Regions from separate parts of the Homo sapiens genome. Here all the other regions are linked to region 6. The links are contacts of gene promoters, found by promoter capture Hi-C in blood cells and fetal thymus (Javierre and others, 2016). All regions are on one chromosome and are shown on one strand. The core of a region is centred on a gene start or on the middle of the fragment in contact, and the rest is flanking DNA. Distances in the headings are between cores, read along the strand shown. Region 1 holds the start of GDPD3 (glycerophosphodiester phosphodiesterase domain containing 3). Region 2 holds the start of LOC112694756 (uncharaterized LOC112694756). Region 3 holds the start of PPP4C (protein phosphatase 4 catalytic subunit). Region 4 holds the start of ARMC5 (armadillo repeat containing 5). Region 5 holds the start of MAZ (MYC associated zinc finger protein). Region 6 holds the start of SRCAP (Snf2 related CREBBP activator protein).

Evidence for each region. Contacts are between HindIII fragments. The CHiCAGO score rates a contact against its expected background, and 5 or more counts as called.
Region 1: a contact is called between the fragment with the promoter of GDPD3 here and the fragment with the promoter of SRCAP in region 6, in 1 of 17 cell types (total B cells). The highest score is 6.7, in total B cells.
Region 2: a fragment that was not itself captured here is called in contact with the fragment with the promoter of SRCAP in region 6 in 2 of 17 cell types (fetal thymus and total CD4 T cells); the score reaches 8.6 in fetal thymus.
Region 3: a contact is called between a fragment that was not itself captured here and the fragment with the promoter of SRCAP in region 6, in 2 of 17 cell types (fetal thymus and naive CD4 T cells). The highest score is 6.8, in fetal thymus.
Region 4: a fragment that was not itself captured here is called in contact with the fragment with the promoter of SRCAP in region 6 in 1 of 17 cell types (erythroblasts); the score reaches 5.1 in erythroblasts.
Region 5: a contact is called between the fragment with the promoter of MAZ here and the fragment with the promoter of SRCAP in region 6, in 1 of 17 cell types (erythroblasts). The highest score is 5.8, in erythroblasts.

The regions. Positions count from the first base shown.
Region 1 is chr16:30,112,132-30,116,611 of GRCh38, forward strand. It overlaps GDPD3 (glycerophosphodiester phosphodiesterase domain containing 3), which reads right to left and starts at 1,406. Exons shown (of 10, transcript NM_024307.3): 1 at 1,209-1,406; 2 at 891-933; 3 at 527-662; 4 at 392-437; 5 at 175-293; 6 at 1-90. The coding sequence starts at 1,347. It overlaps MAPK3 (mitogen-activated protein kinase 3), which reads right to left. Exons shown (of 9, transcript NM_002746.3): 9 at 1,974-2,577. RefSeq lists a silencer at 1,377-1,671. The HindIII fragment of the contact is 12,096 bases long and covers 1-3,443 here.
Region 2 is chr16:30,049,237-30,053,633 of GRCh38, forward strand. It overlaps LOC112694756 (uncharaterized LOC112694756), which reads left to right and starts at 3,915. Exons shown (of 14, transcript NM_001365304.2): 1 at 3,915-3,981; 2 at 4,228-4,263. The coding sequence starts at 4,258. It also overlaps a transcript of TLCD3B not described here. RefSeq lists an enhancer at 4,318-4,397. The HindIII fragment of the contact is 2,534 bases long and covers 169-2,702 here.
Region 3 is chr16:30,075,829-30,080,452 of GRCh38, forward strand. PPP4C (protein phosphatase 4 catalytic subunit) reads left to right here and starts at 166. Exons shown (of 9, transcript NM_002720.3): 1 at 166-266; 2 at 487-647. The coding sequence starts at 550. RefSeq lists a silencer at 440-579 and an enhancer at 690-779. The HindIII fragment of the contact is 1,018 bases long and covers 2,325-3,342 here.
Region 4 is chr16:31,457,403-31,461,976 of GRCh38, forward strand. ARMC5 (armadillo repeat containing 5) reads left to right here and starts at 2,099. Exons shown (of 6, transcript NM_001105247.2): 1 at 2,099-2,597; 2 at 4,520-4,574. The coding sequence starts at 2,123. RefSeq lists enhancers at 13-581, 1,229-1,769, 1,768-2,107 and a silencer at 2,298-2,647. The HindIII fragment of the contact is 2,362 bases long and covers 1,075-3,436 here.
Region 5 is chr16:29,804,049-29,808,695 of GRCh38, forward strand. It overlaps MAZ (MYC associated zinc finger protein), which reads left to right and starts at 2,481. Exons shown (of 5, transcript NM_002383.4): 1 at 2,481-2,845; 2 at 2,930-3,780; 3 at 4,182-4,245; 4 at 4,522-4,647. The coding sequence starts at 2,654. It overlaps KIF22 (kinesin family member 22), which reads left to right. Exons shown (of 14, transcript NM_007317.3): 11 at 1-17; 12 at 766-978; 13 at 1,067-1,126; 14 at 1,215-1,336. The coding sequence ends at 1,262. MVP-DT (MVP divergent transcript) reads right to left here. Exons shown (of 4, transcript NR_186424.1): 4 at 4,596-4,647. RefSeq lists silencers at 982-1,031, 1,772-2,111, 2,242-2,381, 3,282-3,951 and enhancers at 1,412-1,461, 4,032-4,271. The HindIII fragment of the contact is 3,714 bases long and covers 273-3,986 here.
Region 6 is chr16:30,696,827-30,701,705 of GRCh38, forward strand. SRCAP (Snf2 related CREBBP activator protein) reads left to right here and starts at 2,345. Exons shown (of 34, transcript NM_006662.3): 1 at 2,345-2,416; 2 at 3,082-3,155; 3 at 3,790-4,052. The coding sequence starts at 3,999. LOC730183 (a long non-coding RNA gene) reads right to left here and starts at 2,234. Exons shown (of 2, transcript NR_144637.2): 1 at 2,055-2,234; 2 at 881-1,105. It also overlaps the pseudogene RNU6-1043P. RefSeq lists enhancers at 1,156-1,245, 1,276-1,465, 2,122-2,416 and silencers at 1,586-1,995, 2,136-2,365. The HindIII fragment of the contact is 7,629 bases long and covers 1-4,616 here.

The DNA.
Region 1 (4,480 bases), core at 156-2,655, 590 kb before region 6:
GGCAGCCTTGCATTTCTTCATGACCGAGCTCTTCTCCGAGGCCCAGATGGTGATTTCATTACGGTCATAGCGTCTCACCAAGCCTGCTATCTGGGAGGAGGAGAAGGAGGTGAAGGGAGAGCCAGGCCTCTCTCACGCCCCCGGTGGCCGCCCTAGCCCTGCCTGCAGCACCACCTCACGGATGAGCTCTTCGTTCTTCCCTTTGATCTCTACGCTCATGGGTGTCCTTGGAAACCTCTGGAACAGGTCCTCCAGACGAACCATGCGCCGGTCTGACCCGTGAGCAAAGTGGCCTGGGGGTGGTGTGGGAAAAGGGGTCAGAGGGAAGCCAAGGCGGAGGTCCAAGGAAGGCAGGCATGGCCCAGGCAGGGCTCGAAGCCCTTGCTCTCACCTGGAGAGAAGTAAACCTCCAGCTTCTCCTTGTAGAGGGGCAGGTCCTGGGGAGGACAGGAAGGATGTCACTAGAGGCCCGCATTGGGCATGGTGACTCTCAGGGTGGGGGTTGGGGTGTCAGGGCAGGGCCCACCTCGAAGTCCAGGCTGCCCACATCCCTGTTTAGGCCCGACTGGCGGCACAGGTTCTCATCATGTGACACCACCACCACTCTGTCCCGTGTCAGCTGACAGTCGAGCTCCAGGAGGTCCGAGCGCTGGGCCATGGAGCTGTGGGGGTGAAGGTCAGCGGGGGGCAGGGGCAGGGGACTGGGATGAGGGGCATGGTGGCTGGGAGGTGGCCGGGAATGTGAGAGCGGAGTTCGTGGCGGGATGTGCAGGCCACCTCCAGGGGGCGCCAGTCACCCAGCTAGGAAGTGAATGGCGTCCCTTGCTGTGATGCAGTCCACGACCTGCACACCCTCACATGGCAGCCTGGGCAGGGGCAGATACACTCACTTCTCCATGGCCTCCATGGTGTTCTCCAGCAGCTCTCCAGATCCTGTGGGGGGCACTGGAGTGGGCCTCTGGGGCTTGGGGTCTAGGGGCCTGGCCCAACCTCATCACCCACATTCCCTCTCTGGGCTCCATCCTCCCTCTGGCCTCACCTCCCCAGCCAGCCCAGGCTGCGCCAGCATCTTCTTCCTCGTCCACACCCTGCCCTGCCACTTCGCTCTCCTTCTCTCTTGGTCCCTGCCCCGTTTCTAGCATGCCCCCTTGGACCTACCCCTCTGTGCTGTCCACTTTGGCACCTGTTCTCACCCCTACCCGGCTCACCTCCTCGGTGGGCCCCCAGGCGGATGCGGAAGGTGGGAGCCCTGGGCGTGTGCAGCAGATGAGGCCGGCGCAGGAAGAAGATGGAGAGCATGGCATAGCTGCCCAGGGCAGGGAGGGCATAGTACAGCAAAAGGCTCATGACCGTACTCCCACAGAAGCTCCTGCAGCCACACGCTCAGCCGTCCGCGGGACTGTGCTGCCTGCCTAGCCAGTGTGGGCCGGCTCTACTACTGGCCACTGCCACGCCCCTGGGACCTGCTGAGCCTGCCGCTGGGCTGGCTTGGAGCCAGGCTGCAGGGTTCGGCTGAAGCTGGGGTAGTGTCAGGAGGTGAGGCAAGTAGCCCTGGCTCTCATATCCCCAGGCCCTTCCCAGCCCCCAGCAGCCCCGTCCTGGGCTACATGAGGGGAGTAAAAACCACCCAGGACTGTCAGGACCTCTCCCTCTCACTGGTACTTGTAGCCAGCGCATCCAACATGCCTACCCCTTGCCATTTCAGAGGATCCAGGGGTGTGTAGGGTGCTCCTGAGTCACCCCGAATCACCCCCAGCCAGTTAGACAGGAAGCCATTAGCGAGAGGACAGGACAGTGACTAAGGGGAAAACTGACCCCCTTCTTTCTAGGAGTCTGGAGCTCTCCAGAGCCCCGTCCCCAGCCCTGGGCAGCTGGGAGTGAAGGGCACCAGGCCCCTGAAAGCCCAAGTCAAGTCTGTCCTCAGAGCCGCACGGGGCAGGGCGGGGGCGTCGCGAACACAGACAGAGCCAGGGTCAGCCATAGACACATCTCTATATTTATATATTAGACGGGTCAGGGAGGTGGCAGGGGCGCCGGGCTCTCCACGCCCCCCAGCTCCACTTCTGCTCACCACACACAGAAGCAGCGAGGGCACGCGAAGTGACAGCTTTGACAGGGAGGGGATTCGGCCCGGCCTGGCTCCTCAGGGATGCTAGCCCTTGAGACTAAGGAATGTTCCTTCAGGGAAACTAGGGTGGGGTTTGAATGAGATGAGGGGGGCAGGCATGGCCCTGAGTCCCTACTCAGCGCCCCCCACCCTCCACCTCTGCCCTTCAGCAGGTTGGGGCAGCCAGAACCCTTCCATTCCAGAACTGCCAGAGACTGGGACGCTGGGGAAGGTAAGGGCGCAGCAGCAGCAGCGGGAGATTGAACTGGGGCCACCTGAGGTCCCGAGGCCCCGTGGGGAGGGCGGGTGGGGAGGAGAAGGCCTTGGCCTGCCTGAAGCTGGAGGCCTCAGCAAAGGAGAGAGGTGGCCAGGCCCATGCTCCACCCCGGCCTGGGCTGCCAAGGTCCGGGCTGGGCACAGTGTCCATTTTCTAACAGTCTGGCGGGAGAGGGGCAGGCAGGAGGCAGGTCCTAAAGAGAGAAGCAGGCAGAAGAGGAGTCGTTAGCACCCCCCGGGCAGACCCACTGGAGCCCTGACCTCAACATCTCTCATTTCACCCTCACAGCTGGATAGGCTGGGTCTCAGTTTCCTTATCTGTAAATGGAGATAATAATAGTACCTAGCTTGAGGTACTGCTGTAAGATTAAAGGAATTAATACATGTAAACCTCTTAGAACAATGCTTAGGGCTTTATGCTTTCATTATTAGAACTGTCTCGGCCGGGCACAGTGGCTCACGCCTATAATCCCAGCACTTTGAGAAGCTGAGGTGGTGGATCGCTTGAGCCCAGGAGTTTGAGACTGGCCTGGGCAACATAGCAAGACCCCAGCTCCACAAAAAAAAAAAAAAAAAATTAGCCGGTTGCAATGGCTCGTCCAGCTAGCTGGGAGGATCCCTTGCACCCAGGAGTTTTGAGGCTGCAGTGAGCTATGATTGCACCACTGCATTCCAGCCTGGGTGACAGAGCGAGACACTGTCTCAAAAAAACAAAACCAAAAAAAAAGATAAATAGATTGACTCCGGAAACTGAGGCGCCGAGAGGTGAGGTGCCTTGCCCAATATCACACAGCACTTACTAAGTGGCACAGCTGGAGTTTGAGCCCAGGTGCGCATGCCTTCTTTCTATCAGGCCACACCTGGCTGAAGACAGGAAGAGACCGGAGGAGGCAAGGAGGCAGCGTGGGTGGGGGCAGGCCAGTGGGGTCCCCACAGCTATGTGAACTGCTGATCTGGCAGCAGGTGTGAGGAGGCCTGGCAATCTGGGTCAGGCTGGGCGCTGCTGGGCCCCTCCCAAAGCAATCATGGCCCCACCTGCTTCTGCCACACCCAGAGCTGAAGCTTGGCTCAGGTCCTCACCTGGGTGACAGAGGCCCTCAGTGACCTCTTGCCTCTTTGCCAGTTCTGTTCCTAGAAGGAGATTAGAATGGCTTGTGGGGCTGGAGGATGCAAGGTGTTGACAGGCAGAGACATTTGGGGCTGGAGGACTCGGTGGGCCACCAGTCTGGGCAGCCTTGGGCATTTTTTTTTTTTTTTTTGAGATGGAGTCTTGCTCTGTAGTCCAGGCTGGAGTGCAGTGGTGCGATCTCGGCTCACTGCAACCTCTGCCTCCTGGGTTCAAGCAATTCTCCTGCCTCAGCCTCCTGAGTAGCTGGGATTATAGGCATGTGCCACCACACCCAGCTCATTTTTGTATTCTTTACAGTAGAGACCGGGTTTCACCATGTTGGCCAGGCTGGTCTCAACTCTTGACCTTGTGATCCACCCACCTCGGCCTCCCAAAGTGCTGGGATTACAGGCATGAGCCACTGTGCCCAGCCCTTTTTTTTTTTTTTTTGAGAGAGTCTCACTGTTGCCCAGGCTGGAGTACAGTGGTGCAACCTCCGCCTCCCAGGTTCAAGCAGTCCTCCCACCACAGCCTCCTGAGTAGCTGGGACTAGAAGCGCATGCCTACGTGCCCGGCTAATTTTTGTATTTTTAGTAGAGACAGGGTTTCACCACGTTGGCCAGGCAGGCTGGTCTCGGACTCCTGACCTCAGGTGATCCACTTGCCTCAGCCTCCCAAAGTGCTGGGATTACCAGAGTGACCCACTGTGCCCGGCTAATTTTTGTATTTTTAGTATAGATGGGATTTCACCATGCAGGCCAGGCTGGTCTCAAACTCCTGACCCTCAGGTGATCCACTCCTCTCAGTCTCAGTCTCCCAAAGTGCTGGGATTCCAGGCATGAGCCACCACACCCAGCCCCCTGGGCACTTCTGTTGTCACCAGACACATTGACCATGGGTGTGGGGTAAGCTTGCTGCTGTATGGAGGCATGTACAGATAGATATAGATATAGATATACAGATATAGATATTTAGTATCAGGGTGTCCA
Region 2 (4,397 bases), core at 186-2,685, 650 kb before region 6:
CCCCAGGGTAATTACCTAAACACAAGCCTTTCATTTTATACTAAGGAGGCTGGTGAACCTCTTCTTAATCTCTGGGAGATGATATCGTTGGATGTCCATTGGAGGCAGCTGAAAGTATTAGATCAGAATCAGAACTGCCAGGTCCCTTCCCACGTCCAAGCCTGCTGAAGCTTCTTTCATCTTCTGGGAACTCTGCATCTCTGATCTCCCACCCACCCCACGATTATTGGAAGTATACAATCCTGTCTGCCCTTTCCTAGGGGAAGTGCGGAACTACATATGATACATCTGACATCTCCAGCTTCCAACTTCGGGAGAGGAGACTTTGCGGTTAGCTGGCTATTGTGAAGTCAGTTTTTCTCTGCCCCCAGCAAATGTTGTGATGTGGATAGAAGTGGGGCCTCGGCACAGCCAGGCGCAGTAGCTCACATCTGTAACCCAGCACTTTGGGAGGCCGACGTGGACAAATCACAAGGTCAGGAGTTTAAGACTAGCCTGGCCAACATGGTGAAACCCTGTCTCTACTAAAAATACAAAAATTAGCCGGGCATGGTGGCATGCGTCTGTAATCCCAGCTATTTGGGAGGCTGAGATAGGAGAATCACTCAACTTGGGAGGCAGAGGTTGCAGTGCGCTGAGATCGCACCACTGCACTCTAGCGTGGGCAACAGAGCAAGACTCCATCTCAAAAAAAAAAAAAAAGAGAAAGAAAAGAAATGGGGCCTTGGCAAAGTGGGGTGCATACATCATCCCTTGTCTTGGCTTGCCTGGCAACACACAAGCCTGGGGCACTGCCCGTGCTCCTGCATAATGTATGAGCCCATGGTAGGAACAAAACACCAGCACCAGCGAGTCTGGGCACTGCAGGCCACGGACGTGTCCAGGGGCCTTGCCAAGGCTGAAGTCTCTCTGTTGGCAGAATATGCAGAATATGTGTTCCTGGAGGCCTTTTGTAGGGCTGAGGTGAGAACTGGCCTCAACTTGGTCCTCAGGATTCCATCAGACAATAAGACCGCCCAAGGCCGGGCACAGTGGTTCACGCTTGTAATCCCAGCAATTCGAGAGGCTGAGGCAGGAGGATCGCCTGAGCCCAGGAGTTCAAAAACAGCCTGAGCAATACAGTGAGACCCCGTCTATACAAAAAATTTTAAAAATTAGCTGGGTGTCGTAGCATGCACCTGTAGTCTCAGCTACTTGGGAGACTGAGGTGGAAGGATCCCTTGAGCCAGGAGGTCGAGGCTGTTGTGGTGAGCCATGATTGTGCCATTGCACTCCAGCCTGGGCTACCGAGTGAGACTCTGTCTCAAAAAAAACAAAAACAAAAACAAAAACCGGAAGACAGCCTAAGAAGACAATCTTCTTTAGGATCAATAATGGTGACATTAGCAACAGCTAGACTTCTGTTTTCTGGGCTTGAAACGCCCTCTGAGAGGGCCAGGGGTGGCCAAGAGGGTGGCTGAGACCACCTCAGTATGGTTGACAGTGGGAGGGAAGATTTGGATCCAGGGACACAGCCCCTGGCAGTTTCCGTGGCTGCCTCATGGTGTAGGAAACCCCAGGAGCAGCAGCTGTGGTGAGGTATGTTGGGGTGGAGAACATGGACAAAAATAGGTATATGGTGGCATTGTTTTTAGGGGAAAATGCCAGGATTCAGCCATCGTTTAGGAAGTCGGAGGCCTCCATAGAGAGGGGTGCTTGTGTGAGCGTGCATGTGTGGGTGTGTGCAAGTGTCTGTGTGTGTGTGATCTAAAAAGGTTAGGAATGAAACGGGGAGGTCTGAGTGCCTTGAAAGCCAAGGAAATTAGGACGTGTGGAAAACAATGCTTCATTCGTGGATGGTGTTTGGTTTCAATTCATTCATAGAATCAGTGAGTATTGGCTGAGTGCAGTGGCTCTGGCCTGTAATACCAGCAACCTGGGAGGCCGAGGTGGGAGGATCATTTGAGGCAGGAGTTGGAGACTAGCCTGGCCAACATAGTGAGACCCCATGTCTACTTTATTAAAAGAAAAAAACAGGCCAGGCGCAGTGGCTCACACCTGTAATCCCAGCACTTTGGGAGGCCAAGGCGGGCAGAACACCTAAGGTCGGGAGTTCGAGACCAGCCTGACCAACATGGACAAACCCCGTCTCTACTAAAAATACAAAATTAGCTGGGCATGGTGGCACTTCCAGCTACTCTGGAAGCTGAGGCAGGAGAATTGCTTGAATCCAGGGCGGAGGTTGCAGTGAGCTGAGATCACACCATTGCACTCCAGCCTGGGCGACAAGAGCAAAACTCCGTTTCAAAAAAAAAAAAAAAAAAGAAAAGAAAAGAAAAAAGAAAGAAAGAAAGAAAAAGAATCAGTGAGTATTCACCAAGGCTCCCAGGGCTAGGCCAAGTACTAGAGCTCAGGATACGGAGATGACTCAGACCAGGCCCCAGACACTTGCAGTCTAATTGTGGAGCCAGACATGGAAGTGAGGAATTCAAGTATCTTGTGAGAAGTGCGAGAACAACAGTATCTGTAGGATGCTGTGGGAATTCACAGTCCAAAGCAGCCACCTCTGCCTGAGGTTGGCAGGGAGACCTCACAGAGGCAAAACTGAGGACGTGCTTGAGGGATGAGGAAGAGGTTTGAGGGGAAGACAGAGGGTGTTCCAGGCAGAGGGATCAGCAACTGCAAAGCTGTGGAAATGTGAGACCCTACACACTGGTTCAGGAAGCTTCAGCAGATCCTACTGAAGGTGGCTTATGCCTGTAATCCCAGCTACCTGGGAGGCTGAGGCTGGAGGACTGCTTGAGCCCAGGAGTTCAAGACCAGCCTTAACAACATAGCAAGACCACATCTCTAAAAATTCAGAAAAAAAGGCTGGGCACAGTGGCTCATGCCAGTAATCCTAGCACTTTGGGAGGCCAAGGCGGGCGGGATTGCCTGAGGTTAGGAGTTCGAGACCAGCCTGGCCAACATGGTGAAACCCCGTCTCTACTAAAAATACAAAAATTAGGTGTGCGTGGTGGCAGTCGCCTGTAATCTCAGCTACTCGGGAGGCTGAGGCGGGAGAATCGCTTGAACCCAGGAGACATAGGTTGTAGTGAGCCAAGATCACACCATTGCACTCCAGCCTGGGAGATGAGCGAAAATCTGTCTCCAAAAAATAAATAAATCAATTAATAAATAAATCAGTAAAAAAGAACCGGGCCCGGCGCGGTGGCTCACGCCTATAATCCCAGCACTTTGGGAAGCTGAGGCGGGCGCATCACTTGAGGTCAGGAGTTCGAGACCAGCCTGGTCAACATTGCGAAACCCTGTCTCTACTAAAAATACAAAAATTAGCCGGGTGTGGTAGTGCGCGCCTGTAATCCCAGCTACTCGGGAGGCTGAGGCAGGTGAATCACTTGAACACGGGAGGCGGAGGTTGCAGTGAGCCGAGATCGCGCCACTGCACTGCAGCCTGGGCGACAGAGCGAGACTCCGTCTCAAAAATAAATAAATAAATAAATAAATAAATAAATAAATAAATATAAATAAAATATAAAAAGTAGCATTGATGTTTACAATATCCCTGAGCGGCAGGCGTTTCTCCCTTTTGCAGATGCTCAGTGGCTTGGCCGGAGATACATCCAAGTGGTGGGTGTAGCCTGGGGGTTCAATCCTCCTGTGGCGCCCCAGAACCCGGTGCCTCCTCCAACGTCCGGCATCTGATGAGGATCCGACCCAGGCGGGCGGCGGCGGGATTCGCTCTTCCCCTTCGCTCCCCGCGAGAAAGCCCCGAGGGCCGCGGCGGCGCAGAGCCGGTGACAGTTGAAGCTTAGGCGGGAAGAGGGAGGCGCGAGGCGGGAAGAGGGAGTTTGGGCCTCGGCAGCCGCCGTACAAACACCGCTCTGGTCACCATGGCAACAGCGGGATGCCGCGAACGGCTTCTGGGCGGGGCCGGTCCCTCGGACGATTGGACCTAGCTTGGCGCGGAATCCGTGAATTGCCCGCGGCCCGAGGGTGCAGGTGATGGGTGCTGACCGACTGGGGAAGCCCGGAGTGTGGGGACTGAGGAGGGGAGTGGCCTGGGGCGCGCTGGAGCCTGCGAGGAAGGCGCCGCCTCGGATCCCCCGCCCCCCATTCCCCTTCCCGAATTCCACCCTCCGGCCCAGCCATGGCCTCAGTTTCCCCAAACAGGAAAGGGAAGGAGGGTGGGCACCCCGGTCTAACGGTGCCTCTCAGCCTCTGAGACCCAGAACCTTCCTTCTGCAGCTCCCGGACTGACTGGCTCTGCCCTTCCCCATGGACGTAAGTCCGGGCCCCTTCCCCTCTCTGGGCCCCCTCAGCGCCCTCTCCTAACCCCGAATGGGCCTGTCTTCCAGCACGGACTGGGGAGGGGGCTTCTACCCAACAGAGACTACAACCTGCCAGCTCAGGACGAG
Region 3 (4,624 bases), core at 1,584-4,083, 620 kb before region 6:
GCGGCAGAGCCCACAAAACTGCCACTGGCCGCCACCGGGTTCCTCCACCTCCTTCCCGATCTCAGGCTGGAGAAGTGGTGCAGGGGTCGCTGCGAAAGGAGAGGAGCGTGTATGACGCCACATCCGGCGCGCGGCGGAACTGGCCTCCTTTGCTTCCGCGGCGGGGCCGGAAGTAGGAGCGGCGGCGGCGGCGGCGGCGGCGGTCGAAAGCGGAGTGAAAGAGGGAGGCAGGGAGCCGGAGAGCCGGAACCGGAGTCGCAGCGGCGGTAATAGTGCGAGACTCCTCTAAGTCACCGTCCTTAGCGCGGGACCGCGGGGTTCGACGGGAGTTAGCGGGGGTGCGGCCAGGCCGTTGGACGCCGGGGGGTCCTGGGGCCGATGTGAGGGGAGGCGGGGGTGGGGGAGCCGGGCCGGCTCTAGAATCGAGTTGTCCGCTCCGAGCCCCGGACGGACACTGATCCGCGGGCTCGTCTTGGCCTTTCCCAGGAGACCCCTGTGCGGTGCGGAGGGGGCGGCGGCCCCGACTCTGACCCGCGCCGGGGGTGGGCCATGGCGGAGATCAGCGACCTGGACCGGCAGATCGAGCAGCTGCGTCGCTGCGAGCTCATCAAGGAGAGCGAAGTCAAGGCCCTGTGCGCTAAGGCCAGGTGAGCTCGTTGGCCCTGGGGAAGGGAGGCCAAGCCGCCGCCCACGGGTTCTGGCCTGGGGCAAACCCAACTGAGAACTTTGGGCTTGCCTCGTTCTGGAAGCTTTCCCAGAGAGGAGCAGGATGGAGCCGCTGCCCTCGAGGAAAAGCTAGCCTGCTCGGGGAAGACAGAGTGGATAAAGACACTTAAAGTTTATTAGACGATGTGTTTCCAGTGGAGTAAGAGTGTTACATAAAGTACTTAGGAAACTCAAGGAAACAAGTCCATCTGTCGGGGGACGGAAGCTTGTTGGAGGGGGGCCGAACTGTGGGAGAGGCCTCGAATAAGGAGGTGGTAAAAGAGTCAGCCAAAAACCAAAAGTTTAAGACAGGAAAGTTAAAGACCCTGTGATTTATAAAAGTCTTCTAATTACAACAACCCTTAAAGATTGGTGGTATTGTACTCATTTTACAGGTGGGAACTTTCATGTTCAAAGTTACCCACAAGTAAGGAATGGGGTCTGAAGCCAGCTCTTAGTGTCCTGTCCTTTTTCAGGCCATAATGCAAAAAGGTGGAGTTGGATCATTCACGTTCAGGGTGGGAGCCTGAGAAATCGTAGCAAGTAAGCCAGGGTAGAATTAAGCACGATAGGGAGGCCAGTTCAGAGTTCTGTGGGAAGTAGGATGATGTAGTGGTTAAGGCTCTAGGTTTTGCAGTGTGAGATGGCTCTAGGTTTGAATCTGAACTCTGCCGCTTTCTAGCTGTGTTAGTAATCTTAAGTGTCTTTATTTGTAAAGCAGAATTAATAGTACTTAATAAGATGATTGTGAAGATTCAGTGAGTTGGTGCTGGAGATGAGGTTAGCACAGTGTTTTGGTACAGCATACGTGCTTGATAATCACCAGGTATTCTATTTCTTTTGGAAGAGGGCAATAATGAGATGGGCTAAAGCCATCAGGGAGGGCTTTTGAGTGGAGGTAGGCCTTGAAGGATGAAGATAATTTGGCTAGCTGATGGAGGCAGGGCCAGTGAGGGAAGGGCATTCCAAGCAGGACGAATGTAACAGTGGAGGCCCTGAGATGCGTGGGGAACAGTCAGGGGTTTAATTACCTGCCTCCTCTGGGGAACTGTGTGATTGTGGCTTCTACCAGGCTGGAGAATTGTGGCAGAAGAGCCCACAGAATTACCCTACGTTTATTGAACAGTAAACATTGGCCTTTACAGGGCCACTATTTGGCCTGGCCCGGTACTGGCAAAAAACTTCTATCCATCTCTTCCCCCCAGCAATCCTATGAGGTTGGAATCATTTGCTGCATTTTATCGAATAGGAAGCCATGACTCGTAGAGGTCTGGTGACTTAACTGAGGTCACCCACTGAGGACGTGGCAGAGCTGGGTCCTGAATCTGTGGCCCTCAGGCTCTTTGCCTGGCCCTGCCTCACATAGACTACCTGCAGCCAGACAGGGCCTGTGAGGGGATGATGAGCAGGGTCGGCCTCTTTTTCGCCACCTGTCTGTGGCTTTTCTCTTTTGCCAGCTGACCAGACCAGCCCCATGGTGTTTTTAGTTGTCCCCTTTCCCTCAGTCCTGATTGGCATTTTTAGGAACTTAAACCTGTTGTTGCCTGGCACTATTCTTTAACCTCGAAGTATTGTCTCCCTCACGGGCCCTGGATCAGTGTGGTGGTGATGGTAGACAAAGCTTAGATAGCATGCTGGAGTTTGCAGAATAGCAGGAAGTCGTATATTCAGTCTCCATGGCTCCTTGCAACAGCCTAAGGAATACGCAGGGTGGGCTGAGTACTTAGCCCCATTTCATAGCAGAGGAAACTGAGCCTTTGAGTAGATAATGTCTTGCCCAACATCACGCAGCTAGTCGGAGGGGAAGTTAGTTTTGCATCCAGGTCTTTGACTGTGCTCCGTGGTCACTGAGAGCCAGGCAGAGGCATTTAGATTTTGATGTGGGGTGTGAGGCAGCAGGAAGCCATGGAAGGCTGAGGGGTGGAGGGTCCTGCCCAGTTGAAACTGAGTGGAACTAGGAGGTACTAGGCCAAGGCCTGAGTTGGCCGCTGTTGTCCCAGGCTCAGTCTGAAGCAGGGCCATCTCTGATACCTGGTTATGGCCTCCTGGGGACCCATCAGAGACCCAGGCTGAGGCTGGTGGTGTCAAGAGCACCAGCTTGCCTAGAGGGCACAGACATGCAGATGAAACCAGTGGAAGCACAGAGGTCCGCAGTGTCTGAGCTGAAATTGCTGCTACTAGAAATATTAGCACAGTAGGAGAGCTGAGCTTTTGAATCAGGTGGTCTTCAGTATGAATCTTTGCCTTGTCACCTAGAAGCAATATGACCCTCGTCAAGTCACTTTCTGATTTTTTGAAGTGATAATGACATGCAGTTGAGAGTCCGGGTATCCGGGCACAGGGCCTGCTGCGCTGGTAGCCGTTACTGCAGGCAGGTCCTGATAGGGCTGGGGAAGTGCTGCAAGTGGCAGAACTGGGGCTGGAATCTGGGCCTGATTCCCAGGCCACACTGGGGTTGCGCTGGCACTGAGGGGGGCTTTGCAGAGAGCACGGGCCCTGCATGTGACCTCCCTGGGCTTCAGGTTTTCACTCAGGGTCTGTGGAAGGGGCTGGCATAAATTCTCAGGAAATTGGGCTTCTGGGTTCCAATTTAGCCACTCTCCAGCTTGGTGACCTTGACCCTCCCGCTTTTCTGTAAGCTTTGGTTTCTTTTTTTCTTTTTTTTTTTTTTTGAGACAGAGTTTTGCTGTTGTTGCCCAGGCTGGAGTGCCAGTGGCCTGATCTTGGCTCACTGCAACCTCCACCTCCTAGGTTCAAGTGATTCTCCTACCTCAGCCTCCCAAGTAGCTGGGATTACAGGCACGCGCCACCATGCCCAGCTAATTTTTGTATATTTACTAGAGACGGGGTTTCACCATGTTGGCCAGGATGGTCTCAATCTCTTGACCTCATGATCTGCCTGCCTTGGCTTCCCAAAGTGCTGGGATTACAGGCATGAGCCACCGCGCCCGGCCTAGCTTCGGTTTCTTTACTGTTACGTGAGGCTGAAGAGAACCTCCCCAGTCTGTTGGAAAGGTCACTATGAGCAGTTGATGGGGAAGGATGTTCAGCACAAGAAGCAGTGCAGGTGGGAGAGTCCGGGTACTGATGTGGCCTCTTGGACCACCGCCAGTGCTGCCTTCTGTTCCCAGAAAGCCAGGGCAGACCTCCTTCGTGCTGCCTCTGCCATACAGAGCAAGGGGCATAAGTGAATCCTCCTGTCCACTGAGCTCAGGAAACTCATTCTAAGGGAAGAGATTGGCAGAAAGAGGGGGGCCAGGCGAGTTGGGCCTCCCACATCAGAATATCTTGATAAAGAGTCAGACCCCAGAGCCAGGCTTCCCTGGTTCATATCCCACCTGTGTCACTGGCACCAAGCCAGCCTCCTTCCCTGCTTCAATTTCTTCATCTGTGTACCGGGAATCATCATAGTACCTGCCTGCCAAGCTCTTAATAACATTTGTGGCACACAGTATGAGCTCGAATGTTCACTGCTGCTATTACCAGGCAAAATTTGGAAATACAGTGTTGCTTAAATTGGGTATCTATAGGCTGGGTGCAGTGGCTCACATCTGTAATCCCAGCACTTTGGGAGGCAAAGGTGGGTAGATCACTTGAGGTCAGGAGTTCGAGACCAGCCTGGGCAACATAGTGAAATCTCGACTCTACTAAAAATACAAAAATTAGCTGGGCGTGGTGGTACATGCTTCTAATCCCAGCTACTCGGGAGGTTGAGGCAGGAGAATCACTTGACCCAGGAAGCAGAGGTTTGCAGTGAGCAAAGATGGCGCCACTGCACTCCAGACTGGGCAATGGAGCCAGACTCTGTCTCAAAAAAAAAAAAAAAAAAAAAAAATTGGGTGTCTTACCTGGCAAAGTGATTTCATCTCCTGCTCACTCAAGTAGAAGTAGACTGCACTGCAAGGAGAAATAAAAAATA
Region 4 (4,574 bases), core at 1,006-3,505, 760 kb after region 6:
GCAGTGATCACAGATCTAGTGTTCTGATTCTTCCAGACTGGGGCTCCTTTGTTAAAAACAATTTTTAAATTTGTTATTTTTTTGAGACACTCTCTGTCGCCCAGGCTGGAGTGCAGTGGCACGATCTTCGCTCACTGCAGCCTCCGCCTCCCGGGGTTCAAGTGAGTCTCCTGCCTCAGCCTCCCGAGTAGCTGGGATTACAGGCGAGAGCCAACACGCCTAGCATTTTTTTTTTAGTAGAGACAGGGTTTCAATATGTTGGCCAGGCTGGTCTCGAACTCCTGGCCTCCAGTGATCCGCTAACCTTGGCCTCCCAAAGTGCTGGGATTACAGGCATGAGCCACCATGCCCAGCCCAGACTGGGGTTCCTTGACTTAGCAAAGGGTTGGGCAAAAAGATGTGGAGACCCCCTCGCCCCAACCGAATCCCATCATTAGCTCTAAAATCAACAGCCCTAAGGGAGCAGAAGGGGGTCTGCTTAGAGATCCTGGTTCCTTCCATTTCCTTGAAGTCCGAACCAAAGTCAGAGCTGAAGTTTCAGCTAAAATTGAAGCCAGGGCTATTTGCAGAGGCTGCCGCCCTAGTGCGTCCGCTGGTGCTGGCCCAGGTTGGAGCTTTGCGCTAGGGCCCTGCCACACTGCAGGCAGACGCAGGGGTGCTGCTGTGGGCCGCCTAGTGGATGGGCAGGTGGGAGCTGTGGCCGAAGGTCTGGCCACACTCACCACCAAGCATCAGGTTTCCGGACTTTGTGACTGTGCTGGTGCCGCAGCAGATTCCAACTGTGCACAAAACTCTTACTACAAACAAGGCACTTAGAGGCCTTCTCACCCATGTGGAGCGCAGGTGCTGCAACAGGGTGGAGCCAAGGCTGAGACTCTTGCCGCAGTCCCCTCAGCGGTAAGGCTTTTAGCGGTGTGAGCGCGCTGGTGCTGGATCAGGTTGGAGCTGACGCTGAAAGTCTTACCACACTAGGCACAGGCATAGGGCCGAAGCGATGGTCACACTCGGGGCAGGAGTACGGCTTTTCACCGGTGTGTACCCAGTGGTGCTTAACCAGATCAGAGCCACATCGGAAGCTTCTGCCATAACCCGGACAACGGTAAGGCTTGTCACCAGAGGGGCTGCCTTGGTGGTGAATGAAGCCGGGGAGGCAGGCTGTGGTCAGTCCACATTTCCGGCACTCGCAGGTTTTGGGGCTTGTAGACGGTTGCTCTTGGCAAAGGCTTCTTCCTCCCCAGGGCTAGAGCCTGACCATTTTCCGGGCGGGCAGCTGCCCCGACCACACCAGGAAGGGCTGCTCAGGCGGAGCCACCTCGCAATCCAGGGGTGACCTGGGGGCTCCCCGGGACGCGAATGTCCCGCTCCCCCGCCGCCCCGCCCCGTCCGGATTCTCCCTCGCCTCTTCTGGCGCGGCCGACTGCGCTGCGAGTGAAGAACTCCCCGTTTCCTAGATGCCAGCTCCTGAGCTCACGAGCACGTCCAGAGCGGAGGACACTCGGGACACCGGGGTCCAGCTCCGGAAACGGAAAATTCCACAAGCCCGTCACTCTAGGAAGCGGCAGCGAACGTTCTCGGTAGGTTTAACCCTCTTCTTCCTCTGACCGAGCGAGGGCTCCCCGTCTGCGGCGCGGTCAGGACCCCGCACTTTCGGCCCGGCTCGGGGTTCTCGGAGTCCGTCCCAAGGCCGGGCCGCACCACCGCTGGGGGGCAGCGAAGCGAGCCTAGAGGAGAAAAGGCGGTCCCCGCCGAGTGCACGCCGGGGGCGGGGCACGGCACGAAGGCTCCGTGGTCGGACTTCTGGGCTGTTCGGAGGCCCTGGCCCACCTGGAGGGCCCTGGAAGAGTTTCCAGCGCTTCCCGAGGTAGGCGTGAGAAGCTCGACGCGGACCACATCTCCCTCATGCACCGCCCGCACGTCCCAGGATGCGCTGCGATTAAGGTACTGCCGCGCCTCGTGTGCAAGGACAGACTTCCGGGGTCGAGAACTACAACTTCCGACTTGCATCACTGCGGTGGCGCTAAACAGCGTCAGCGAGGCGGTGCCCGACGATTTCCCTGTCTTCCAGTTCCGCTCCCTGGGATCAGCGGCGAGAAGCGGGGCGGAGTCTGAGGCCCGAGCCAAGATGGCGGCTGCGAAGCCAACCCTCACGGACTCGCTCTCGTTCTGCCTCGCGCAGCTCGCGGCGGCGGCCGGGGAGGCTCTGGGTGGGGAAAAGGACCCAGCGACCAACGAGACACCCCTGAGCCGCGCGCTCCTAGCCCTCCGCACGCGCCACATCAAGGCAGCGGGGGGAATCGAGCGCTTCCGGGCACGCGGCGGGCTCCGCCCCCTACTCGCGCTGCTACGGCGAGCGGCTGCAGCGGGTTCCGCCCCGTCCCAGGCAGGCCCCGGCTCCGCCCCCTCGTCGGCCGCGTCGGGAGCTTCTAGCCCCGCCCCCGCGTCGGGCCCCGCCCCCTCCGCTGTGTCGTCGTCTAGTCCTACGCCGCCAGTGCGCCTGCGCAAGACGCTGGACTTGGCGCTCAGCATCCTAGCCGATTGCTGTACGGAAGGGGCGTGCCGGACCGAAGTGCGCAGACTCGGAGGCATACTCCCTTTGGGTAAGTGCTCCGCCCCCGTTTCCTAGAAAGATTAGGTTTGCAACTCCCTTGCTCTCTAGACCCGGGCAGTCTGGAGTTCTTTGTGTCCTATCCCGGAATAACGTGCTTTGTGATGGCGCATCGCTCCTGTTTCTCAATCTGTTGTGCCCCGTGACGTCACTGCACTCTCTATAGATGAGAGAGAGCCCTCCCAGACCAGATAATTGTAGCCATTATCTAGGAATTGGTTGTTGAGGACTTCTTTCGAAGCTGGACTAGCGGAGGCCAAAGAGTTATTTGGTGATTTTTTCAGATGATTCTTACCGTCCAGTTATGATGTTCATAGCAGACATTCAGTGCCCAACTATGTGTCCGGCCCTGTGCAAGGTTCTGAAGCCCCACTGATGAGCTGGAAGGTGTAGTGGTTCAGAAAGGGAGATCTGCAAAAGTCACCTAACCCCTCCGAGGCTAGGATTCCTTGTAAAATGGGGCAATAATAGCTACCTAAAAAAATCAGAGTGGGGAGAAAACGAAGTACAAATATGGCACGAATATGCAAATATTCTAAGCATGATACGTATTTCAAGTTATTAAAAACTAGCATAAGCTGGGTGCAGTGGTACGCGCCTGTAGTTCCAGCTATTTGGGAGGCTGAGGCGGGAGGATCCCTTGAGCCTAGGAGGTTGAGGCTGCAGTGAACAATGACTGCCTGTGAATAGCCACTGCATTCCAGCCTGGGCAACGTAACAAGACCTCGTATCTTAGAAAACCAAACAAATCAGTAGTCGCTTAGGAAGCAGGAAAAAATAAATAAAAATAATTAAAACCAGCACAGTAAGAACAAATCCTAGCAAAACATAAGCTTTTCTGTTTACCAGCTAAATTGGTGCCTCCTAGTGGCAATGTGTGAAAGCAGTTTACATGTCACTACCTGCCTTCCACGAAATTATGCTAGTTTTGATGACATCTTAACTTTTCGGATAAAGGGAAGCATTAATATATTTAAAATTTACATAAAATGTATCTGGACCATATATGTTTGACAAGAGCTTTGGTTATTAAATAACCCCCATCATTCAGCTACTATTTTTCATCTTAAATATCTTCTGAATTTATCTGCTTCTCTCTCTTCCTACTTCCATTGTGTGCCCAGAGACTGGTATCTCTGTGCTGTGTGATGCCAGTAGCTGGGTTGGTTCAAGCTATTGTCTTTTCATGCTTGGACTATTATGACAGCCTTTTGACTCCCCCCTTCCTATTCTTTCCCCATAATGCATTCTCCCTATGGATGTCAGATTGTATCGTGTCACTCCCCTTCATAAAACCCTTGTGTGGCCCCCAGTGCCTTCACATTCAAGTCCTGACCCCTTGGCCTGACATTTGAAGCCTTTCACAGACACTGTATCTTACCTCTGGGCCTTTGGAAAGGCTGCTTCCAAACCTGAAATGCCTTCTCACACCCCCATCCACCGTGCTTCTGGCAAATACCTTCCTGTGTACCCCTCCAGACCCAGCCCGAGTGTTAGCCTCTTTCTTTTTATTTTTTTGAGATGGAGTCTTGCTCTGTCATCCAGGCTGGAGTGCAGTGACACGATCTCAGCTTACTGCAACCTCTGCCTCCTGGGTTCAAGCAATTCTCCTGCCACAGCCTCCCGGGTAGCTGGGATTACAGGCGTGTACCACCATGCCCAGATAATTTTTGTATTTTTAGTAGAGATGGGGTTTGGCCCCGTTGGCCAGGCTGGTCTTGAACTCCTGACCTCAAGTGACCCACCCACCTTGGTCCCCCAAAGTGCTAGGATTACAGGCTTGAGCCACGGTGCCCTGCCGACCATTAGCCTCTTCTGAAAGCCTTCCAGGCCCTCTCAGGCCACATTCTCCAGGTTATTGATGTGAGAGACAGTAAGGGGTAGAACCCTCACAAGCCCAAACTGTCGTTGCAGTGACCATTCTTCAGTGCATGAAGACAGACAGCATCCAGAACCGAACGGCCCGTGC
Region 5 (4,647 bases), core at 1,231-3,730, 890 kb before region 6:
AAGGCCGGAAGAGAAAGGTGAAAGTAGCTGGGGGCTTAGGCTACACCTGGAGCCCAGAAGTAAGGGGGAGTAGGCTCTAGGGGGAGGAGCGTTGGCCTTGGGGTTAAACGAACTGGATGATGGCCGCCAGCTACTAACAGACCTCAACTTGCTTACCCCTGGAATGTGGTGATGGATGGTTCCTTGCAGGGCATTTAGGGTGGAAGGCAGTGATGTGGATGTACCTCGCAGAGCGGATGTTCCACTGTGTAGCCTGGCTTCTACCCTCTACAAGCTTAAGAGGGAAAACTTAGGGAACTATGACCTAAGCAGTCAAGCAAGAAACCACACATATGCACATACCCAGAATCGAACACCACTAGAACTACCCAAAAACTGAGATGGTTGGGGGAGGTATCATTTATTCATATTACTTTCTCCCATGTACTTTTTGAAAGACAGCTTATTCTTTCCCTTTTAGAGATGAGGGACCAGATTTAAGAGCTTATTTTGTGCTTTACATTCATTAACTCACTTGATCTCCACAGCAACTCCATGAGAAGGGTGCTAATATTACCACTGGGTACTGAGTAGTACCTCTCTTTCACTAGTTGCATAATAAGAATTAACCCAGAGAGTGACCTGAGGGCGGGATTTTGGACACACTTGACAAGAGAGGAAGAGGCTGGAGCGCAGGAGGTAGCTGGTGCTGGGCTCCTAGTCTTGGCAGAGGAGCCCAAAGCACTTGGCTGCCCTGCGTGTCACTCATCTCCCTTTGCCTCCCAGCTGGAGTCCCTGGATGCCCTAGAGCCTGAGGAGAAGGCTGAGGACTGCTGGGAGCTACAGATCAGCCCGGAGCTACTGGCTCATGGGCGCCAAAAAATACTGGATCTGCTGAACGAAGGCTCAGCCCGAGATCTCCGCAGTCTTCAGCGCATTGGCCCGAAGAAGGCCCAGCTAATCGTGGGCTGGCGGGAGCTCCACGGCCCCTTCAGCCAGGTAGCAGCCCACTGGACTGGGGGAGGGCGGGGGCGGGGGAGACCGGGTACCCCCGAGACCCTGTCCCCTATCGATCCTGTCCCGCCAGGTGGAGGACCTGGAACGCGTGGAGGGCATAACGGGGAAACAGATGGAGTCCTTCCTGAAGGTGAAGTCACGGCCCTGCCCCTCCTCTGCCTGTCCTGCGCCCCGCGCCCCTCTCTAACGTCGCTGTCTCCCTCCCTCCTGTGTTGCAGGCAAACATCCTGGGTCTCGCCGCCGGCCAGCGCTGTGGCGCCTCCTGACCGTCGTCTCCTCACTCCGCCTTTTCAAATTTTTGTATAACCCCGTGTTGTGTAAATACAGTTTTTGCTCCGGTGCTTCCGCCTGATTTTTGGGGCTGCGGGGGCGGGACCGGGGTGTGACCGCCTCGGGGTGGGCCGCGAGCAAGGCAGGCGACTCCACTGGGCGCCATCTTCGGGGAACGACTCAGCGCAGGATTGTAAATACACCGCTGGGGTGGGGCGGGGAGGACGGTGGCCTGCAGGACGCAAAAAGCGGAAGCCGAAGCATGAGGCCTGCGACCGTTAGGCGGGCGCGCGCTCAGGGATTAGCCCCGCCCCGTCCGTGCCCCCGGCGCGCGCGCTCCCCCATTCTCCCGCTCGGCAACGACGGCGGCCTTGTGCGCGTGCGCGCGAAATAACGGCCGCTGGCGGAGGGAGGGGGAGTGGAATCGTTGGCGGGGGGAAGAGGAGAGAAGCCGCCCTGTCTCCCGCGCGCCCACCACCTGCGCCATCGTCAGCCAATCAGCAGCCGTCTCAGGGGTCTCGCGCTCGGGGCGACTCGGGCTGCTGGGTGGCTCCCCCGTCCCTCCTCCCGCCAGAGTCCCTCTCGCGCCTGCCCCTCCCGCTGGCCACGCGCGCGCTCGCGCTAGCGCTCGCGCCCGCTCCAGCCTCTTGTGTGTCCTCGCGCCCCCCGCCCGCCCTCCCCGCGCGTAGTGTGCTCCGCTTCCCCCACCCTCCACCTCCCCCCTCCTGCCCGCCCCGCGCGCCTCCTCCCGGGTTCCCCCTCCCCCACCGCCGCCGCCTCCTCCTCCCGCCCCAGGGTGAGCGCGAGCCACCTCCCTCCCTCCCTCCGCCATGGATCCCAGCAACTGGAGCAGCTTCATCTTCCAGGTAACAACTCCCTCCCCCCGCCCCCACCCCCCTGCCCACACCCCCTCCTGCCCGCCCTCCCTCCCGTCCCACCCCCCCTCCGCGCGCCCGGTGCGCGCGCAGCTGTCCCCCTCCCTCCCTCGCGCCCTCCCCCGCCCTCCCCGAGGCGCCGGCTGGGCGCGCGCGCGGCGGGGGCCGAGGCTGCTCCCTCGCTCCCCCCACCCCGCCCCGCCAGGCTCCAACCGCCGCCGCCGCCGCCGCCGCCGCCCGGGCCCCCGCCCCCGGCCCCGGCCCCGCGGGGCCTCCCGCCCCCACCCAGGGGGCGTCGCCGCCGCCGTCGCCGCGGCGCTCCGCGGCCCGCAAGGCGCCCTCTTTTCCTCCCTCCCGCCGGCCGGGGTGCGCGGGCGGCGGGGCGGCCCGCGGGCCATGCGTTCGGCGCGGCCCAGCCCGGCCGGCCGGGGGCGGCGCCCCGAGCCCGGGCCCCGCGCGGCCCGCGCCCCCGGCCCCCGCTGAGCCCCGGGGGCCCCGCTGCGGCCGAGGCCATGTTCCCGGTGTTTCCTTGCACGCTGCTGGCCCCCCCCTTCCCCGTGCTGGGCCTGGACTCCCGGGGGGTGGGCGGCCTCATGAACTCCTTCCCGCCACCTCAGGGTCACGCCCAGAACCCCCTGCAGGTCGGGGCTGAGCTCCAGTCCCGCTTCTTTGCCTCCCAGGGCTGCGCCCAGAGTCCATTCCAGGTGAGTAGGGCCGGCCGCGGCGGCCCGGGCTGGGGGGGGACGCCCGCCCGCACCCGCGGCCCACTCGGCGCCTTGTCTCCGCAGGCCGCGCCGGCGCCCCCGCCCACGCCCCAGGCCCCGGCGGCCGAGCCCCTCCAGGTGGACTTGCTCCCGGTGCTCGCCGCCGCCCAGGAGTCCGCCGCGGCTGCTGCGGCCGCTGCCGCCGCTGCTGCCGCCGTCGCTGCCGCGCCCCCGGCCCCTGCCGCCGCCTCTACGGTGGACACAGCGGCCCTGAAGCAGCCTCCGGCGCCCCCTCCGCCACCCCCGCCAGTGTCGGCGCCCGCGGCCGAGGCCGCGCCCCCCGCCTCCGCCGCCACTATCGCCGCGGCGGCGGCCACCGCCGTCGTAGCCCCAACCTCGACGGTCGCCGTGGCCCCGGTCGCGTCTGCCTTGGAGAAGAAGACAAAGAGCAAGGGGCCCTACATCTGCGCTCTGTGCGCCAAGGAGTTCAAGAACGGCTACAATCTCCGGAGGCACGAAGCCATCCACACGGGAGCCAAGGCCGGCCGGGTCCCCTCGGGTGCTATGAAGATGCCGACCATGGTGCCCCTGAGCCTCCTGAGCGTGCCCCAGCTGAGCGGAGCCGGCGGGGGAGGGGGAGAGGCGGGTGCCGGCGGCGGCGCTGCCGCAGTGGCCGCCGGTGGCGTGGTGACCACGACCGCCTCGGGGAAGCGCATCCGGAAGAACCATGCCTGCGAGATGTGTGGCAAGGCCTTCCGCGACGTCTACCACCTGAACCGACACAAGCTGTCGCACTCGGACGAGAAGCCCTACCAGTGCCCGGTGTGCCAGCAGCGCTTCAAGCGCAAGGACCGCATGAGCTACCACGTGCGCTCACATGACGGCGCTGTGCACAAGCCCTACAACTGCTCCCACTGTGGCAAGAGCTTCTCCCGGTGTGCACGGGGCCTCGGCCGCCCGCTAGGCCGTGGGGAGGGAGGGACGCGACGGAGGTGGCCTGGCCGTGGCTGGCGGGGAGGGAGGCGGCTGCTGAGGCTGGGGAAGGGGAGCCACTCCCAGGGCGGAGGGAGGAAGCCTCTCCCGGTTACCAGGGAGCAAGGGGTGGTCCTTTGTCGAGGAGGTGGGCCTTGGGGTTGACGGAAGCTTCGCGTGGGAGGAGGCGGCGGCGGCGGCAGCGGCTGCTGGGCTCCAGGGGAGGGATTTCCTGCTTAAGTGTCGCTGTGACGGCCTGGGCTCCGGGAGGAGGCGCAGGGATCCTCGGAAAGGCCTGTGGTGCGGTTTGGTGGATTTGGGGCGCACCACCTCCGCCCTAACCCCAACCCCAACGTGTCCCCAGGCCGGATCACCTCAACAGTCACGTCAGACAAGTGCACTCAACAGAACGGCCCTTCAAATGTGAGGTAGGAAGCCCGCCTCCTCCTGTCTTGGTTTTCATGATTTTGATCCTCATGGTAGCTGTCTGAGTCAGTCTCTCAGACCCCCTTTTTCTCTCTCTTCTTTTTGCCTTTTTGCTCCATTTTCTCATCCCTTCTTCAAGGCCTCATCATGTCACTCCCATTTCCTACAGATCAAAGATCCCCAAGGCTCTGATTCCTTTAATCTCTTGCTCCCCCCTCCCCAGCCCACCAAGCTTTAACTCTCCTGTGACACCCCCCACGCCCCTCCCCCCTCCTCAGAAATGTGAGGCAGCTTTCGCCACGAAGGATCGGCTGCGGGCGCACACAGTACGACACGAGGAGAAAGTGCCATGTCACGTGTGTGGCAAGATGCTGAGCTCGGCTTATATTTCGGACCACATGAAG
Region 6 (4,879 bases), core at 1,095-3,594:
TGAGCCATGAGAATTGCTTGAGCCCGGGAGACAGAGGCTGCAGGGAGCCAAGATTGTGCCATTGCACTCCGGCCTGGGTGACAGAGCAAGACTATCTCAACAAATGAATACATAAATAAATACTATGTAAAGCACATCAGAAAGCTAACCTTGACCTTAAGATCATGGGTGTGAAACACTGAACTATAGTGAAATATACTCCACATTTAGGTAGTCCTTTAGAGCTTTTTTATTTTTTCATAATTTTAAAATTTTTAATTTACTGTAGAGACGACGTCTCACTATGTTACCCAGGCTGGTCTTGAGCTCCTGGCCTCAAGTGATCCTCCTGCCTTGGCCTCCCAAAGTGCTGGGGTTACAGGTGTGAGCCACCGCACCTGGCCCTTTAGATCTTTCAAAGCAATTTTACATCAGCAATTCTATCCTCACTTTACAGAGGAAACTGAAGCTCAGAAAGGTGAAGTTAATTGCTCAAGGTCACATAGCAAGGAGTTAATGGCACAAGGCTAGGTCCAATTCAGGCTCTGGCCTGGGATCCCCTCTTCTGGGGGTGATGGGAGGAGGGTCTAGAAAAGATGGGCATCATCCACTTTTCTTTCAACCCAAACTTCATCTGTAAAATGGGACCAACAATCCTCTTCGCAGGGAAGAGCTAAACTGAATGGAGGAAGGGGAGCTTCATCAGGGCTTCCTAACCTGGCCTCTTAGCGGGGGCTTTAGGTGGTAAAATTTTATGACAGCGAGTGCATTCTTGTGGCTTAGACTGCTTGGCTAGGAATCTTGACTTCAGGATCTGTCACTGTGTTTTAACGCCTGAGCCTCAATTCGTTTGTAAAATGGAGCAGTTAGGATTAAAAGAAATAATCAAGGCACCAAGTAGTGTCAGTAGAAGGTAGCTGTTATTTATTGTTCTATTCTGGGGTAAAGGTATCAGATTCTCAAAGGGATTCTTAATCTAGAAAGTTTGCGAAGAGATGGCAAAGGTGTTTGAAAGCTATCAGGAAACCATCCTCGCGTAAAACGAAGCAGCGCTACAGAAGTGGGCTGCCATGGGAATCGGGAGGCCCAGGTTCCACTGCTAACTTGCTGCAGCTTACTGGGTGATCTGTAAATAAAAAGGGAGGTGGCGGTGGTCCGAGCTGGCAGCCGCAATGCAGCCCCAGGTAGATCTAGGGGCAAACGGTAAAGGCGCTCCGAGGAAGGGCGAGCGCGCAGCCTCTGGGAGACTACACCTCCCAGGCTGCCTTGCGCACCGTGCTGCACCCTACGCTAGCACGCGAGCCTCCCCGTTCCCCCACCCTCCAGTTACTGTCTCTCGCGAGAAGACGGGCCGCGCCGGCGATAGCGATTCCGAGCGAGTGGTGGTGGTAGTGGTGGTGGTGGCGGCCGAGACGGCGGCGGCCATTTTGGTGAGGCCTCGGGAGCGGCAGCGGCGGTTCGCTGGGAGTAGCGTCTGCCCTTTTTCCCACCCACCGTCCGCATCTGTGTGCTGCGCGAAGAGGCAGTGGAGGCAAGGCGGTGGCAGTAGCCGCAGTCTCCAGGGGAGTTTAAAGGCCGCGAAGGCGGTGGCCAAGAGGGGGCCCTCCCCCCTCCTAGGCGGGAGGGGGGGTGGTGCGCACGCCCCCGAGGACGCAGGTAAGGAGAGGGAGACAAGATGGCGAACGCCCCACAGTTCCCCCTCCCATGACGGCTGACTGCGCGCGCATCTTTCCGCCACCGCCTCCCCCCCACCTTCCCGGGGTGCTGCGCGCGCACCCTCAGCCGGGGCCCCGGGGCCGGTGCGCGAGGCTGTCGGCGCGCGCCCATAGAGACAGACTGAGGGGGTCAGGCCGGCCGGCGCTGGGCCCCGGCGTGTCTCCTCTCCCTTCCCGCCCTTCTGCGCACGCGTGCCTGAGCGAGCGAGCGAGCGAGCGAGCCCTGAGAGGACGGACCCAGGTGCGCTCCTGCCCGCCCACCAACCCAGTCACCCCTCAGGGGCGCGCGGGAAGAGGAAGGGGGGCGTGGGACGAGTAGTCGGGGCGCGCGCCCACCACATCTAGCCGGGGGACCAGGACCTGGTGGCACGAACCCTCCCTTCTCTCAGCCTTTCGCGGTCGGGTGATGGGGGGGCTCCCTGACGGGCTTGGATGACGAGCTTCCCAGCCCCGCGACCCTTGTGTGCGTGGGCTCGGGTTCTGGCGGGAGCCCCTGGGCCGTGCGCGCAGCCGGCTCGCTCCGCCTCCAGCCGCGCACGCGCGGGCCCCTCCCCCGCCCGGCGCGCACGTTGGGTGGGGTGGGAGTCTGGAGGGGGCGGGGCTATCTCAGGGCTAGTGGCAACTTGGGCAGAGGTCAGGGGTCACGCGAGGTCAGTCCGTCGGGAGGGCTAGGGAGATGGTCACGAAACCTGAAGTCAAGAGTTAAGGCTTGTTGGCTTCTGGTGAGCTCGGGTCTTGGGAACGTGTGGCGGAGTAGGGAGTGAATCAAAGCCGGCACTGTGGTTTAGGAATTTCCTTAAACACTGGGGAAGCATTTCCGGGCCTCCTGCGGGTTCACACTGCCTGTTTCCGGCGCGTGGTTCTTGGCAGTGCGGCCTCTCGCTTTTGACTGCTCCTGAGTCTCCTTTTGCTGTGGTTCTTGTATTTGGGGAAGTGTCTCAAGGCGCAGGTATGGGATATACAGCGCCCTGCCCTGAATCCTGGGCGGATTTTCCTGTGACCAGCCTGTTTGTTGACTCTTCCCGGGAGTTCCACTCTCACTTCTGCGTTCAGCCCTCACTGGAAAGGCCCGCAGGCAGGTAGCACCTTTCTGAGGTTCTGGATGTGACAGCTTTTTTTTGCTGTATTTTTTTTTTGTCTTCCATTCTGTGGTTGGAGCCTTTACACTTAAAATTTTTGAACTTTCTTTCTTCACTCCTTTCCTGCTCCTGCCCCCAGGCAGGATCGTATGTCCCTCCGGAATTCACAAAACATGATTTGCATTTCCCTGAAATGTGAGATTTTCCTACTACTGTAGTTTTTCTGTTTCTAGTCTTTTAACTGATTTGGGTATATTTAAACGTCTCAAAAAACTGGAGTAAATAATACGCTTTGATGGATGTTTCAGGTGTGATTCCCTTCAGTACGGCGGCACCGTGGAAGTGCAGACTTTCACAGGGGGTGTGGTCTCAGCTCACACAGGTGAGGGATCTGCTACCATTTTGTGTGCTGATGCTAATGGGAGAAATGTTTGAGATAAAGCAATTATAGGTCCGTATTGGGGATTTTCACTCTAGAGAAGCATGGGAATGTTTGCATGTGATTTTTCTGTAGAGGGTTTGATTATAGTACAACAACAGAACTGAGGCTGTGGGTTGAGGAAAACGTGGTCAACCTGGCTCTACCAGGAAGAGTAGCAGGTTTTCCTTGGTTTTGGCATCAGACTGTGGATTGAAGCCCTCCTATCACTTTTTTACTGTGTAACCTTCCGCAAATCATAAGGTCTTAACTTCGTAACTTACAAAACAGATTATATTAGAATGTAAGCTACATTTAGGTCGGGAATCCTTTCTGCATGGCTATATCCGTTGTGTGTAGGAGGAAGTCAATATTTGTTATGCTGTGAAAAGCACTTGGTTTTTAAGGTAGGTGTGAGGATTATAGAACACATCAAACAGGTACTAAAAGTATCTTATACATAGTAAGTGCTCAAGAAATGTAACCTGTAATTTCTGTGTTTCTCTTTATTCAGTGTTATTTCTGGTTTTTTAAAAATACTTTTTCATCCCCTTTAACTGCATTTCTGTCTTTTTTTTTTTTTTTAACCCTACTTTAGGTGCTCCAGAGGCTGGTGGACCTGAGCGGAGGCTGGGACGCCCTGGTGGGCCCCGGGCCCTGGAAGGCGGGTCCCGGTGGCCGGTGGCCCAGAATGAGGCCAGCTCCCAGCATGCCCTGCAGCCGGACGCCAGCCCCTCGGCCAGCAGTACTGGTGATAACAACCCAGTCATTCTTCAGGCATCCAAGGGGGAGCCTGGGAGTGGGACCATGCAGAGCAGCCCCTCCCCTGCTCACCCTCAGCTCCCAGTCCTACAGACACAGGTTTGAAAGTGGGAAGAGTTCCTTCTCTGCTTCTGCTTTGTGGATTGTTGAGTGTGAGGCAGAAGAAATGTGGCAGGGGAATATTTGTGGAGAGTTTTGGAGAATCTTTGGTGCTCGGGGGCTGGGCTGTAGTATATCAGGTCTGTTGGATACTCACATTCCATTTAACATTAGTGTAATATTATCTCCAAGAGTGTAAAAGCGCCTCGTTACCTGAAAAAGGTTGAATTAGGCTAGGCTGGAAATGGAGGTCGTGGCACCATGCTTCTAATACCATACGCTTTAAGAATAGTTTAACTTCTATCAGTACTGGAGTAGGATAAGCCTATGGATGGTGTGTAGTGTTCATTCCTTTCTCATACCAAGGAAGGGTGTGGGGTAGGAAAAAAAGCATGACTTTTAAACACATCTAGGTGTGTGTACAGTCAGCTTTCTATTTTAATTTTTTAAATTTTTCTATAAAAAGGGTTTCTTTATTGTGTCATCCTTGCACAGGGGCCATGCTAATCTTTTCTGTATCCTCCCAGTTTTAGTATATGTGTTGCCAAAGTGAGCAGTACAGTAAGCTTTTCATGTTTGTAAAGTTGGTATTTATAGTTTTCCTGAGAAACTGGGGAAATTTGTGACATACAGTCTTGTCATTTAGCCGAGGTAGGAATTTGAGTGGCGCAGTGTAAGGCTTATGTCCTGGAGTGAATTTGTGAATTCCCTGAGTATCCACCTTTCAGTAGGACTTTGTTTTCCATTTTTTTCTTTTCTTTTTTTTTTTTTTTGAAATGGAGTGTCTTTCAGCCAGGCTGGAATGCAATGGCGCGATCTCGGCTCAC